Regions from separate parts of the Homo sapiens genome. Here region 2 is linked to region 1. The links are contacts of gene promoters, found by promoter capture Hi-C in blood cells and fetal thymus (Javierre and others, 2016). All regions are on one chromosome and are shown on one strand. The core of a region is centred on a gene start or on the middle of the fragment in contact, and the rest is flanking DNA. Distances in the headings are between cores, read along the strand shown.

Region 1 (6,826 bases), core at 2,498-4,997:
AGAAATTAACAAGGTAACAGCACAAAGAGGACTTAGGTTTCAATGCTGGCTTTGTGACATATGAGTGTCTTTAATACTTTCTTGACTCTGTAAAATTTTATTTATTAAAGAAAATAGTGCCTAGCACACAGAATTTCTGGACAGATCATGTAAGATCTAAAAGCCCTCAATTATCAGGTACTCGTAAATATCAGTAGACTCCAACAGCACTAAAAAGTCAAGAGATGCATCTCTATATTAACGAAATAACAGCCTGTCATCTCAAATGGTTTTGAGTTTCATTCAATCCTAGTCTATTTCATAAAGTTTACTTACACAATGATGTTATTAATAGGAATATGGATCAATTTCACAAAGAAGCCAATGAATCCCATTATAGCAAATCCTATTGCTGTTGCCATGGCAATCTTCTGGAATTCTGCATTTAAAAACAGGAAATTCACATATTTTTTGCACTGTCACTGAAAGTATGGGAAAAAAACTATCAGCAACATAAATGAACTTAACTAGTATACATTTCTCCTGTTAATAGATATATAATTTAAAAATAAAAAGGTGAGACTATTAACAGTAAACAAGTTGTTTGACAGGTTTTAAAATTTCCATGTTTTGTTGATATTTAAGGAAACAAATAATAATGCATATCTGTCCTAGTGAGTTCATCAGCAAGTACTAAAAATATTTTTTCTTCTTAGCAAATGACCAGAAAATACCAAAAACAAAAAAAGGTCATGGATGAAAGAAATATACATTATTTTTCTTAAGTTTTAAAATGTAACATTGTAATTTTTATCATAACATATCAATTATATGGGCAGAAACATACCTTTTTTGGGTACATTATAAACGATGGGTCCGGTGCCTTTGCTATTATGATGAAGCCAAAAATAAGACTTGAAAAATCAAACTGGGCTGGGCCCAGTGGCTTGTGCCTGTAATCTCAGCACTTTGGGAGGCCGAAGTGGGCAGATCACCCGAGGTCAGGAGTTTAAGACCAGCCTGGCCAACATGGTGAAACCCTGGCTCCACTAAAAATACAAAAATTAGCCGGGCGTGGTGGCGCATGCCTGTAATCCCAGCTACTCAGGAGGCTGAGGCAGAATTGCTTGAACCCAGGAGGCGGAGGTTGCAGTGAGCCGAGATCGCGTCACTGCACTTCAGCCTGGGCAACAGAGTGAGACTCTGTCTGAGTTGAGCACAATTTTATAAAACATTACACTGGTAATGTTGTCATTTTATGTTACTTCCTAAGAGAAGCTTTCCCTGATCTCCTGACTTGGTTAGTCCTCCTATTATGTGCTGTCAAACTTCCTTCTAGTTATCTTCCATAATACTTAACACAGCAGTAATTAAAAAATATAACCGCAATAATTTGTTTATGACAGTCTTCCTTGGTAAGAGTCTAAGCTCCATGACAGCAAGGACTATTCTCTTTACTATAATATATACATGTTATATACTATATTATATACTATATACTATACTATATATATACTATATACTATATATACTATATACTATATACTATATTATATACTATATACTATATTATATACATGTTATATTCTCTATTATATTACCAGCTCCTAACTCAATGAATGAATAAAAGTAGACAAATTTAACACATGAATCATGATAAATAACAAAATTAACTTTCTAGTTTGGCAAAAACTATATTGTTGGTTTCATGTTAAGGTTTTGTTCGTTGGGGTGGGAGCTGAGTAGGGAGACTTCAAAGCTTTTCCAAAGAGAAAATATGTAAGATACTAAAAGTCATAAAATGTTACTAACTAAAATGTTACATGGAACATAAGGCTGTAATAAATAATCTTACACCATTTGAAAATACATAAAAATTTAGACGAGTAAAAAATTTAGGAAGAAGTGACAACGTTAAAAAGCTGTCGCGCAGGATCAATCAATAAAAATGTTGATCAAAGTAATGCAAGGGCTATTAATCAAGATGTTAATCAAACAAAAGGCTTAGAAAATGCAAAGATTTAATTTTTTCTCTCATAGTCAAGCAATTACCTTTTCTATCAGGTTTAGTGCATCTTTTAACCAGCCGAATGGAGTCCTTTACAAACTGCCGACTTGGCTCAACAAACTGCATTACCTGATCCATGACTGCCTGTTTAAAACAAAAAAGATACTCACTGGTATTGGTTCTCATACAATAAGCACTTGCTCATTTATATAAAGATGTAAATGAGACCAGCCACTGAATTCACGTCTAACATGGGTCAATTCCACCTCCTAAAATAAAACAAAAAACAAACTCCAAAGCCTAAATTGATATTATTTTTGGAAATTTCAGTTAATTATCAAAGGCAATAAGAAAAGCACAGATCTTACTCATGATATCTTCACTGACAAAGAACAGCACACGCAATATAAAAAGCCTATCTCTATTAAAAGGTTAAAAAAGGTTACGCAATTGGTAACACATCCATTCCTTTTCTCACTCTGCAGTCCCATCCATTTCTCATTCTACAGTCCCCTCACCGCTCCTAAGGAACCATCAGTGTTGAGATCCAACAATTACTTTCCATATTTTATTTTAAACTACGCAGAAGCCAGTGTCTTGTACAGTGAATGCCAACTACGGTGCTGCAAGAGCCTAGAATAGAGGCAAACGTGAATTTCAACCTTGATTTTTCTAAAACGTGCCAATACAACATACTTTTCTAAAGTATAAAGAATGGCTAAAGGAAGACGCAAATTCTGAGAAGCTACTAGCTAAATTTCAAACTTTTCGATTTGAACACATCTTTTAAGGAAACAGGGCTATATATTTTACCATACAGGTTCTTTTGAGGAATCTATTACCCAATAGAAATGTTATCCGATCTTAGCTTTGAGAGCCACTGCTATAGTAAGTAAAGCAGCCAGGGTGTTATTTGTATTTTCCTCCATTTCCAGTACTCAGAACAGTGGCCAGGTGGTAGTTCAAATCACTGGCTATGGAATGTAAACCTCTGTAAGCCCCAGTTGCCTTCCTTAGTGTAGGGTGTGGACAACGAAATGAAATAATGTCAATGAAACACCAGGAATTCTGCAACGTTCTGGGGGCAAAAACACAGTAATGTCTGTTTTCTCAGTATTTCACTCAACTTTGCTCTTGAAATCCAAAGGGCTTAAACTTTTTGTAATCATAGTTGTCACGAAGGAAGCTAAGAATTCTTTATCCAGAAAAACGCACGCTACACACAATACCGCACTCAATGTCAGGGGTAGAGATCCAAAAACCAACTATGATCTCTCGAACTAGACTCTAGACCAATGCTCTCACTTTAAACCACGGAAGCGGCGGCAGGACCAGAGCTGAGTACAGCTCTTCCCAGACAGGACTCCACAACAGCACACAGAGCCAACCCCGAAGGGATCGGGCAGCAGGACATCATCTTTGGCTGCAGCACAGAAGACGCCGGGGCAGGACGCTAAGCCCTGGAGCCCCGCGGGCCGGCCACCCAGCTCGCCGGGAGTCCGCGGCCCTGGGTCTGCCTTCCGCCAGAGGCCGAGTTGGTGGGATGTCGGCGGCCAGACCCCGGCCCTGAGCCAGGGGACCACTTACCGCCCGCCCCGCGACGGCCGCCCGGGGAGACACGCCGGCTCGCCCACGCCCGCTGCCCCCAAGAGTCGCAAAGGTGTGGCCGCCCCGTTCGCCCGTACCGACCGGTGGGAAGAAACTCACCTACCCAACCGACACCTAAAATGCCAGGGACACGTAGCACTGGAGCTTGCTGATGGAGGCCCACCGGAACCGGAATCCGGGTTTCTGCCAACAGCCCGCCCACTCCTCCGTCCTATTGGTTCCTTACGCGAAACCTCAGTGCGCAAGCGCAGCGCGACGTGCGCCCGGCCACGCTTCCTGGAAGAGATGCATTGCGGAGCTCGCTAGTTGGGGCGTTGGCCTTCCTTAGGAGTGTGAGTCTAGCGTTATCCCTTTTTTCCGGCTGGATCCCGGGTTACCCCACCAGCCCGACCTCAACCCACTCACGTCCACAGCACGAGCCCCAGCGGCCTTGCGCGGTGCTTGCTCTCTAGTAGCGGCTGACTAGGTAAATCCTAAGTTGTGGTTTTTTTTCCTGCGGTCCAGCTTGATGTGTGTCCTTACGGTACATACTTTTTGTATGTATATAATGTTGGTCGAAATGAAGCTTATGAGCAATATAATGTTATGGCCTAATTCAAAATAGTATCCCCACCCCAAACTTTGACTTTGGCTGTCATTCACGGTAATGAATGCCGCTGTAATTGAGGCCTTTGTCAAACGCTAGGTTTGGTTACGGGAGTGGTCATAATGTACACACAGCTCCCCACTTACCCACAAGGATGCATTCCAGGAACCCCCCGCCGGATGGCTGAAACCGTCAGTAGAGACGGGGTTTCACCATATTGGCCAGGCTGGTCTTGAACTCCTGACCTCGCGATCCACCCGCCTCGGCCTCCCAAAGTGCTGGGATTACAGACGTGAGCCACCGCGCCCGGCCATGTTTCCTTTTAGCAATGGAGCATAACGGGATCTGAGGAACAATATAACTCAGGAAGAGCTGATGGAACATTAAGACGTGTTACAACTCTCAGTGCTTCTTAAACTTCTTCAGTAACTGAAATCTCCTGTTAAGTTTTTTAGTAAATGAAATTTGTAACCCCAGAACCTCCAGATATTGATTCAGTGGGTCAGGGTTAGAGGTCACACACCTCCGTATATCTGACTGTAGGTGGTCCATACACACTACACATACCTTGCCTTAGCTTTAAGAGTCACTTTTAAATTCTGAACAGACTGAGATGCGTTTGACTAGTTCTTCATCCCTGGGACTTCAGCCCATGTGTCATCTCCTTAGAGGCCTATAGTGACCATCTAAGGCAATCCTGTCTATCTCATGCTCTTTTTTCCTTTTTCACAATACCTTCTTCATTTGCTGCATAGCATTTGTATTAACATTTATTTATTTATTCCTCGGTCTGTCTCCCTACACTGTAAATCCCCTTACTAGACCATAAGCTCCAAGTGGGTATAATATAGCATCTAGTAAAGTGCTAAACACAGTAAATGCTCAATAAATAATTTTCAAAAAAATAATTCATTCCAAAAAAACATAAAATCACATGTTGGCAAGTTCACCCCAACCACCAAATGTCTGAGTTGACAGTATTTTCAGCAAAACACAGAAAATCAAGTAACACATACAGTGGTTCCCCTTATCCAAGAAAATCTGGTTCAAAAAGAGATGTGTACCAGAAGGTAATCTGGGAGAGGCCACATTCAAATAACTTTCATTACAGTGTATTGTTATAATTGTCTACTCACCTGATTTCGGGAGTTTGAGACCAGCCAGACCAACGTGGAGAAACCCCGTCTCCACTAAAAATACAAAAATTAGTCTGGAATGGTGTCGCATGCCTGTAACCCTAGCTACTCAGGAGGCTGAGGCAAGAGAATCCCTTGAACCCGGGAGGTGGAGGTTGCAGTGAGCTGAGGTCACACGACTGCACTCCAGCCTGGGCAACAGAGCAAGACTCCGTCTGTAAAAAAAAAAAAAAAAAAAAACAGGCTGATAACAGCAAATCTGTGCAAAAATACGTAACAATCAGAACTCTAGAACTCTAATTCCTGGTTACTAGGAGTGTAAAATGGCATAACCCTTTTGGGAAAAGTTTAGTAGTTTATCATAATATGAAGCATATATACACCACCTATGGCTCCACAATTCCAATTCCAGGTACTTATTGAAGATATATGAAACTAAATTCACAGAAAGACTTGTACAGGAATGTTCGTAGTAACTTTATTGATAACAGAACTAAAAGCAACAGGGTACCATCAATAGAATGAATAAACATACAGGTATAGTCCCACAACAGAATAGTACTCCATAGCTAAGGAAAGAAAACTCTCTGCCACAACATTGATGAATGACAAACATGGTGAGTGAAACAAGCCTACGCTAAAGAAGGCACAGTGTGCAGTTCCATTTGCAAGAAATTTTAGACAAAGCAAAAATAATGAATGGTGGAAAAAATCAGAACAGTGTTTGCCCGGGGCTACATATTGAGAAGGCGGGTGAGGGAACTGGGGAGTGAATGTAATGCTCTGTAATTTAACAGGTCTTAGGGTTTCACAGGGGTCTTAGTCAACGTGGGCAGCTATAACAGAGTATCATAGAGTGGTGGCTTACACAACAAACATTTATTTCTCACAGTTCTGGAGACTGGAAGTCAGAGATAATGGTCAGGTTCTTGTGAAGGCTTTTACTGGTTTATAGATAGCTACTTTCTCATTGCATTCTCACATTGCGGGAGATGGAGGAAGAGAGAAAGAAAGGACCAGCTCTCCTCCTGGTCGTAAGAACACTAATCCCAACATGGGGCTTCAGCCTCCTGACCTAATTACCTCCCAGAAGCCCCTCATCCAAATGCCATCACATTTGGGCTTCCACATATGAATTTGGAGGCGCACAAACATTCCATCCATAGCAGCAGGTCTGTGCCTTTTTCCTCAAAAAAAAAAAAAAAAAAAAAAAACCTCAACAAGTATTGAGCTCTAGTTAATTATACAATTGTCGATGCATTTAGGAGGGAAATGTACAGGTATCTACAACTTATTTTGATTTTAAAAAGGGCAGGTTCATGGTTAGAGGAATAAACTGGTGATAATGCAAATACAACAAAATGTTAAATGTAGACTTAGTTGTGGTGTAAGATGTTCATTGAATAATTCTTTCAATTTTTCTGTATGTTTAAAAATGTTTATAAGATGGAAAAAAGTCAATATATAGATCACCAAATCAAGTTTTAAAAATTTTGACATAAATTGTAC
Region 2 (6,826 bases), core at 3,177-5,676, 4.7 Mb before region 1:
AGGTTTTGCATAGCAAAGGATACAATCAATGAAGTGAAGAGACAATCCACAAAATGGGAGAAAATATATGCAAACTACCCCCTTTGACAAGGATTAATATCCAGAATATACAAGCAGTTCAAACAACTATAGGAAAAAAAACTAATAATCTGACAAAGAAAATTGGCAAAAGATGTGAATAGACATTTCTCAAGAAGACATTCAAATGGCAAACAGGCCTATGAAATGGTGCTCAACATCACTAATCGTCAAAGAAATGCAAATCAAAACTACAAGAGGTATCATCTCACCAGTTAAAATGGCTTATATCCAAAACACAGGAAATAACAAGTGCTGGTGAGGATGTGGACAAAGGGGAACCCTTGTACACTGTTGATGGGAATGTAAACTAGTACAACCATTATGGTGAACAGTTTGGAGGCTTCTCAAAAAACTAAAAACAGAGCTAACATATGATCCAGCAATCTCCCTTCTTGGTACATACCCACAAGAAAGGAAATCAATATATTGAAGAGGTATCTGCATTCCTGTGTGTTGCAGCACTGCTTACAATAGCTAAGATTTAGAAGCAAACTACATGTCCATCAGCAGATGAATGGATAAAGAAAATGTGGTACATATACACAATGGAGTACTGTTCAGCCATAAAAAGGAATGAGATCCAGACATTTGCAACAACATGGCTGGAACTGGAGATCATTATGTTAAGCGAAATAAGCAGTCATAAGAAGACAAACATTGCATGTTCTCACTTGTCTGTAGGATCTAAAAATCAAATCAATTGAACTCATGGACATAGACAGTAGAAGGATGGTTACCAGAGGCTGGGAAGTGTAGTGGGGAGTTTTAGGGGGAAGTGGGGATGATTAATGGGTACCAAAAAATAGAAAAAATGAATAAGACCTACTATTTGATAGCACAACAGGATGACTATAGTCAATAATAACTTAATTGCATATATTAAAATAACTTAAAGAATGTAATTGGAATATTTATAACCTAAGGAATAAATGCTTTAGGGGATGGATACCCCATTCTCCATGATGTGCTTATTTCACATTAACTGCCTGTATCAAAACATCTTATCCACCCCATACATATATACACCTACTATGTACCTAAAATTAAAAAAAAATAATATTCTTAAGAAAAATTTTTAAAAGACTTAAGTGTAAGACCTAAAACAATAAAAATACTAAAAGAAAATCTAGGAAACACCACTCTGAACATAGGCACTGGCAAAGCTTTCATGAACAAGACTCCAAAAGCAATTGCAAGACAAACAAAAACAGACAAGTGGAAACTAATTAAACTAAGGAGCTCTGCATAGTAAAAGAAACTATCAACAAAGTAAACAAACAACCTACAGAATGGGAGAAAATGTTTGCAAACTATGCCTCCCATGAAGTCTAATAACCAGAATCTATAAGGAACTTAACAAAACAAACAAAAATCAAGCAACTCCACTAAAAAATGGGCAAAAGACATGAATAGACACTTCTCAAAAGAAGTGAAACATGTGGACAACAAGCATACGAAAAGATACTCAACATAACTAGTAAGAGAGAACAAAAAAAAAGAGAGAGAAGACACAACCAACATCAGGAGTGAATGAGGACACATCCCTATAGATTCTGAAAACCAGAAATCTGTTATCTATAAAGAGATAACACAAAATATTACAAACTACTTTATGCATATAAATACAACACATTTAAAAATCCAATGTTGGACAAATTCCTTGAAAGATACAATCTACCAAAATTCATAAAATGGTGTGTTCCTACCTCATTGAGATTATATCTATGAACTCTGATAAAAGACTTCAGACATAATGACTTTAGGAAAGTACCTTATTCTCTTAATGCTTTTGTTTTCCCATTTATAAAATGGAGAAAGTGGCTGTAATTACTGCAAAAGGTCATTGTTAAAATTAATATGTGTAAATTGTTAGAATAATATCTGACACATAGTAATCTTATGTATTTATTATTTTTATAAAATTCACTGTGCTAAGTAAAATAAGGCAGAAACTGAAATATGTGGAATCTAAAAAAGTCACACTAATACTCATACAAAAGTCACATTCACACTCCACCCTACCACAAATATAGGGTAGAATGGTGGTTACCAGGGACTGGGGGGTTGGAGACATGTGGTTCTTGGTCCAAGAGTATAAAATTTCAGTTATAAGATGAATAAGTTCAGGAGACCTAATGTATAGAATGGTAAATACAGTTAACAATAATGTATTGTATACTTGAAATTTTATGAGAGTAAATCTCAAATGTTCTCACCACACACACACAAAATGGCAACTATGTAAGGTAAATGATATGTTAATAGCTTGATGTAGGAAAGCTGAACACATGTGTGAGTACTTATACATGTTTGTGTGAATATTTAGAAAAGCAGGAAAAGTCCCCACACCAAAAAGAGTTAATTCATCAGAACAGTATTAGGGTCAGAGTGGGAGGTACAGAACTTGTTGCAATAAATGCAATTACCTTTGTAAATAAACAATACTAAATTTTCAAGAAACAGAGAAAAAGAGAGACACCAAATATAAGACTTGCTCCCTATGTTTCATAACACATCTAAACAACTTGAGTATTTTCTCCAAAGGAATGTACAAGTAATCACATAATTACATGATTTATTTGGCTCAAATCAAGGGAAACTATCTTTGAGATATCCATAAAATGATAAGTACAGTGCAGTTTAAACTACAGTCCAAAAAGCTTCTCTGTTCTTCAAACTTTAAGACATTAGACCTCTTCCAGTCCTTTCTGAAATAAAAAGTATAGTGTTCTTAATAAGTTTTACAACTGGTAGAGAGTGACCTATGATAAAATACTGTATTGAAAACCATAATATAATCATAAAGTTAAAATACCAGAATTCCCTGAGAACAGTTTTTATAAAGATAAAAACCAATGTAGTAACAGGATTATATCTTTACCTGGAAATAACTACATTTATCAATACCTACTTTTCTATTATAAGAGTGAGTAAAATAAATATTGCTCCTACTTAAAGGATAAATTGAATTTCATACTATATTTTGCAATATAAACTGCAAGACCTGGCGTTGCACCTCGGAGAAGAAAAAATTTCAAATTTCAATTTCCAAATCAAACGAGCAAAAAATGACAATAAAAAATTCAATGCTTAAATGTTTCTATATTTCAACTTGCAGAGTTTCAATATAAAATGTAAAACATATTTAAAACACATGTTTCTATTACATTATGTGCTACTATTAGAGAGTGATAAAAATAAAATTTGATTGTATTTCCACTACTGGGTGCTTTTACGCCTGGATCACTTCTCTGATTATATAAGCTGCAAAACTTATTAGAATTTCTGTTGTTGAGCCCTGCTGATCCCATGAACAAATTGCACAATCGTTCCTACTTTGCTAGTGTAGTGAGGCAGAGGTTATGTCTGATCTTTCTATCCCCCATAAAACCTAGCACAGCGGCTTCCACCAAGTAGTCATTCACTAAATGAATGATGAATAATTTGTCCTAAGAAAAACACAGACTGACCCAAAGAGGAGATTAATTCTTTAAAATTACCTATTTTTGTATCAACATAAATACCACAGAAACATACAGCTGAGATCTCTTAGCTATATAAATATGAATTAAAACATATTAAAAATTAGTATTTCCTATGTTTCTTTAGCAAGTCTTTGTATAAATATATTGCTCTCCTTCATCCAAGAAAATAAAATAAGCCTGTAAGTTTCTATCCACAGGCACGATCTCAAAATAGCAATAAGATTTTTAAAAAGAAAGGAAAGAAAACATGGTAAATAGAGCAATAAAGGAAAACTTTCTCTGAGGGTATGCAAAAATGACTGAACAGATCTTCAAAATGAAAATTCATTAATCTATATTTTTTGCAAGGCAAGAAACAAAGCCAGCTAAGTTAACTGTAGTTTTTTAAAACTACAGTGTTAAAAATCAGCTTTTATCCAATCAAAAAATTAGAATAAAAGTAAAAAGTAAAATCTGTATTTCAGGATTAAAAAACAAGAAGTTGACTAGAGGAAATACTGATCAAATCAGTCATACAAACAGTATTTTTTAAGTGAGAAAAAGTAACTTTGGGGGATTATAGATGCTTTGAGAACCCCCCAAACAGTTCATTCTTAGAGTATGTCCCTGTATCAAAATAAAATATGTAAAAATGGGAACACTATCTACATTGTTAGCTCTAACTCCAAAAGGAAATCACAAGAAAAAGAATTGAGGAAATAACATAAATATGTATGAGATACAAACATTCTTTTTGTGTTGCACACAATTCAGATACATTTATTTAATTACAATAATTGAAACAAAATCCTACCTGAAACAACTTTTCCTTTAGGCCCATACCATTGGAATGATGGGTCTATCAGTTCAGCATTTCGCAGTTGTTGCGTTACACATAACACGTGTGGACTCTTTTGATGGAGCATGACATACGCTTTCACTGAAAATACAATATTTAAAATGTTCCAATAGTATTTTATCTTCTTTTCTTTCTCTATAATGTACACTTTTGTAGTTTGGGTTACATGCAATAATAAGAGTACTTTGAATTATTGCTCCTATTACTTGATAAAAACTAAATTTCATTGCATTCTATGCAATTAACATTAAAAATATATTATGTATTTGTATGTATATATGTGTATGCATGTATGTGTGTGTACATGTATCCCCAACCTTAGCATAATGTGTTAGTACTTTTCATTCAGAGCTCATATACACTAACCTGTTTTATTCTCAGAATATTATTTCAATAACAAAGTATTAAGATAATACTATATCTACACTTTATCTGTTTTGTAAAGACACCAAACATGATTAGAGCTTAAAAATTGTTTAGATTAGCAGAATAATGCATTATTCACAATGATGTAGCATGATGTACTGAATAAAAATGATAAAGTGATTAAAAAGTTAGCAAATTTATGCTTTTATTGATTTTAAATATTAAAGCATTTTGTTCCATTTGCTTTGAAATTTAAATCCTGATAAGTAAGCAAAAATAGTATCCTTTAGGAGATACAAAAGGAACCCGGTAAAGATTCCATTATTTTAAGTTTACTCATAAGTAAACTTTTAGGAAAGGTTGCAACAACCCTTTAGACTCTGCATGCCAACTCTTCACTGATACACTGTATACAAAGATTTCTGTGATCGAGTAAAATAAAGAGAATCAAAATTCTCTTTGACTTTTAAGAGACTTCCTCTAAAGTTTTACCATAAAGCATGATGTTTATTGAATGTACTTTTAGGTACATACCCTTCCACAGGTTAAGAAAGATCCCCTCTGTTCTTGGTTATTTGTTTTTATCATAAACATAAATCAGCACTGAATTTTAAGAAATGTTTGTTCTATATTGATTGAGGTGATTTTTTTCTTTTTGAGTACTTTAATGAAATGCTTGCATTAATAGATTGCCTAACTTCTTTAATAAATGCTTACCCCATAAATTTTCACTCCTCAGCATGATTTACTGGCCCTACTCTCCATGATCTTTTGCATATATCTCACTATACCTCTTTTCACACCCTCTGCCCTAACCACGCCACAGCAGCACACAGCATCATTCTTTTGTGATTTTATTGATATAAATTCCTCCTCATCTTTGGAGACTCAGCATAAGTATATCCTTTGTGCTTTGGCTTGACAGTACCTCATACCATGACTGTACCCTTCCTCTCGCCCCCACTAACCCCTGTACCTATTTCACAGCAAATATAAATGAATCCAGAAGAGTTTCCCAATGCAAGATCAACATACAAAAACAAATAATATTCCTCTACATCAACAATAATGCATTAAACCATTTTATAGGAAGGAAGATAATATTTAGAGTACAATAAACAAAAGTCACTCTATAATCAAGTAAGACCTCTGTGGGAAACATCTTCAGGCTCTAACAAAAGACATAAAATTAGACCAAAATGCCATAATCATGACTGCATACACATAACTTTAAAGATGTCAATTTATTCCCAAATTTATTTATCAACACATAAGCAAAATCCCAGAAGAAATTATTTAAGAAGCTCTTCAATACTGATTCTAAAATCCATTTGGAAGATTAAAGCTTCATAAATATCTGAAAGAATTCTATAACAGAAAAGCAAAGAGGAGGGACTAGCAATAAGAGTTACTGAGATATATTAACATTTACACTAAATAAAAAAAGAGAGGCCTGGTGTAGGAACAAATAATGGGTCTAGGGAAAAAATCAAATTGGCATAAATAACTGATATATATGTGGTAGACAAGGTACCTAAAATCACTGGAGAAAATATAGATTATCAATAAATTATAGTTAAAAGTTATCTCAAAATACATGCAAATGTAAACTTAGATTTATACCTCTTACCGTATATAAAAATAAATTCCAGGTACACTGAATAACTGAAGGCAAGTAATTATTTAAAGAAAATAATACCTTTATGTCTGAACCAGTTATAGAAAATTATCTCAATGCAAAAAGCACAAATATAAAAATACTGAACTCAACTTCTTAAATGGTAACACTTTCTGTTTGATCCTGTATAACATAGGCAAAGTTAACAAATTTGACTGTAGGGAGAGGATATTTGCAACAAAGTTAATAATGCATTTATAACTGGAATATAAACAATATGAAAAAGAACTCCTTTGAAAACAACAAAGAAAAGAATGGGTAGAGGCAACTTAATCTTCAGCTTACCAAAAATGGAAAAAGTTGGGTAAAATTTTGTGCTGATAAGGATGTGGGAAAATGGGACCCCCTCAAGCACCACTGAAGGAAGTGTGAACTGGT

What was found. Contacts are between HindIII fragments. The CHiCAGO score rates a contact against its expected background, and 5 or more counts as called.
Region 2: a fragment that was not itself captured here is called in contact with the fragment with the promoter of SEC61G in region 1 in 2 of 17 cell types (total B cells and naive CD4 T cells); the score reaches 6.5 in total B cells.

Annotation. Positions count from the first base shown.
Region 1 is chr7:54,755,464-54,762,289 of GRCh38, forward strand. SEC61G (SEC61 translocon subunit gamma) reads right to left here and starts at 3,748. Exons shown (of 4, transcript NM_014302.4): 1 at 3,695-3,748; 2 at 2,032-2,131; 3 at 316-418. The coding sequence starts at 2,125. It overlaps SEC61G-DT (SEC61G divergent transcript), which reads left to right and starts at 3,850. Exons shown (of 3, transcript NR_110040.1): 1 at 3,850-4,061. RefSeq lists a silencer at 3,398-3,717 and an enhancer at 3,951-4,886. The HindIII fragment of the contact is 2,422 bases long and covers 1,737-4,158 here.
Region 2 is chr7:50,077,415-50,084,240 of GRCh38, forward strand. ZPBP (zona pellucida binding protein) reads right to left here. Exons shown (of 8, transcript NM_007009.3): 3 at 4,360-4,485. Among named protein-coding and RNA genes, the nearest start is that of ZPBP, 12 kb to the right of the region's middle. The HindIII fragment of the contact is 3,374 bases long and covers 2,740-6,113 here.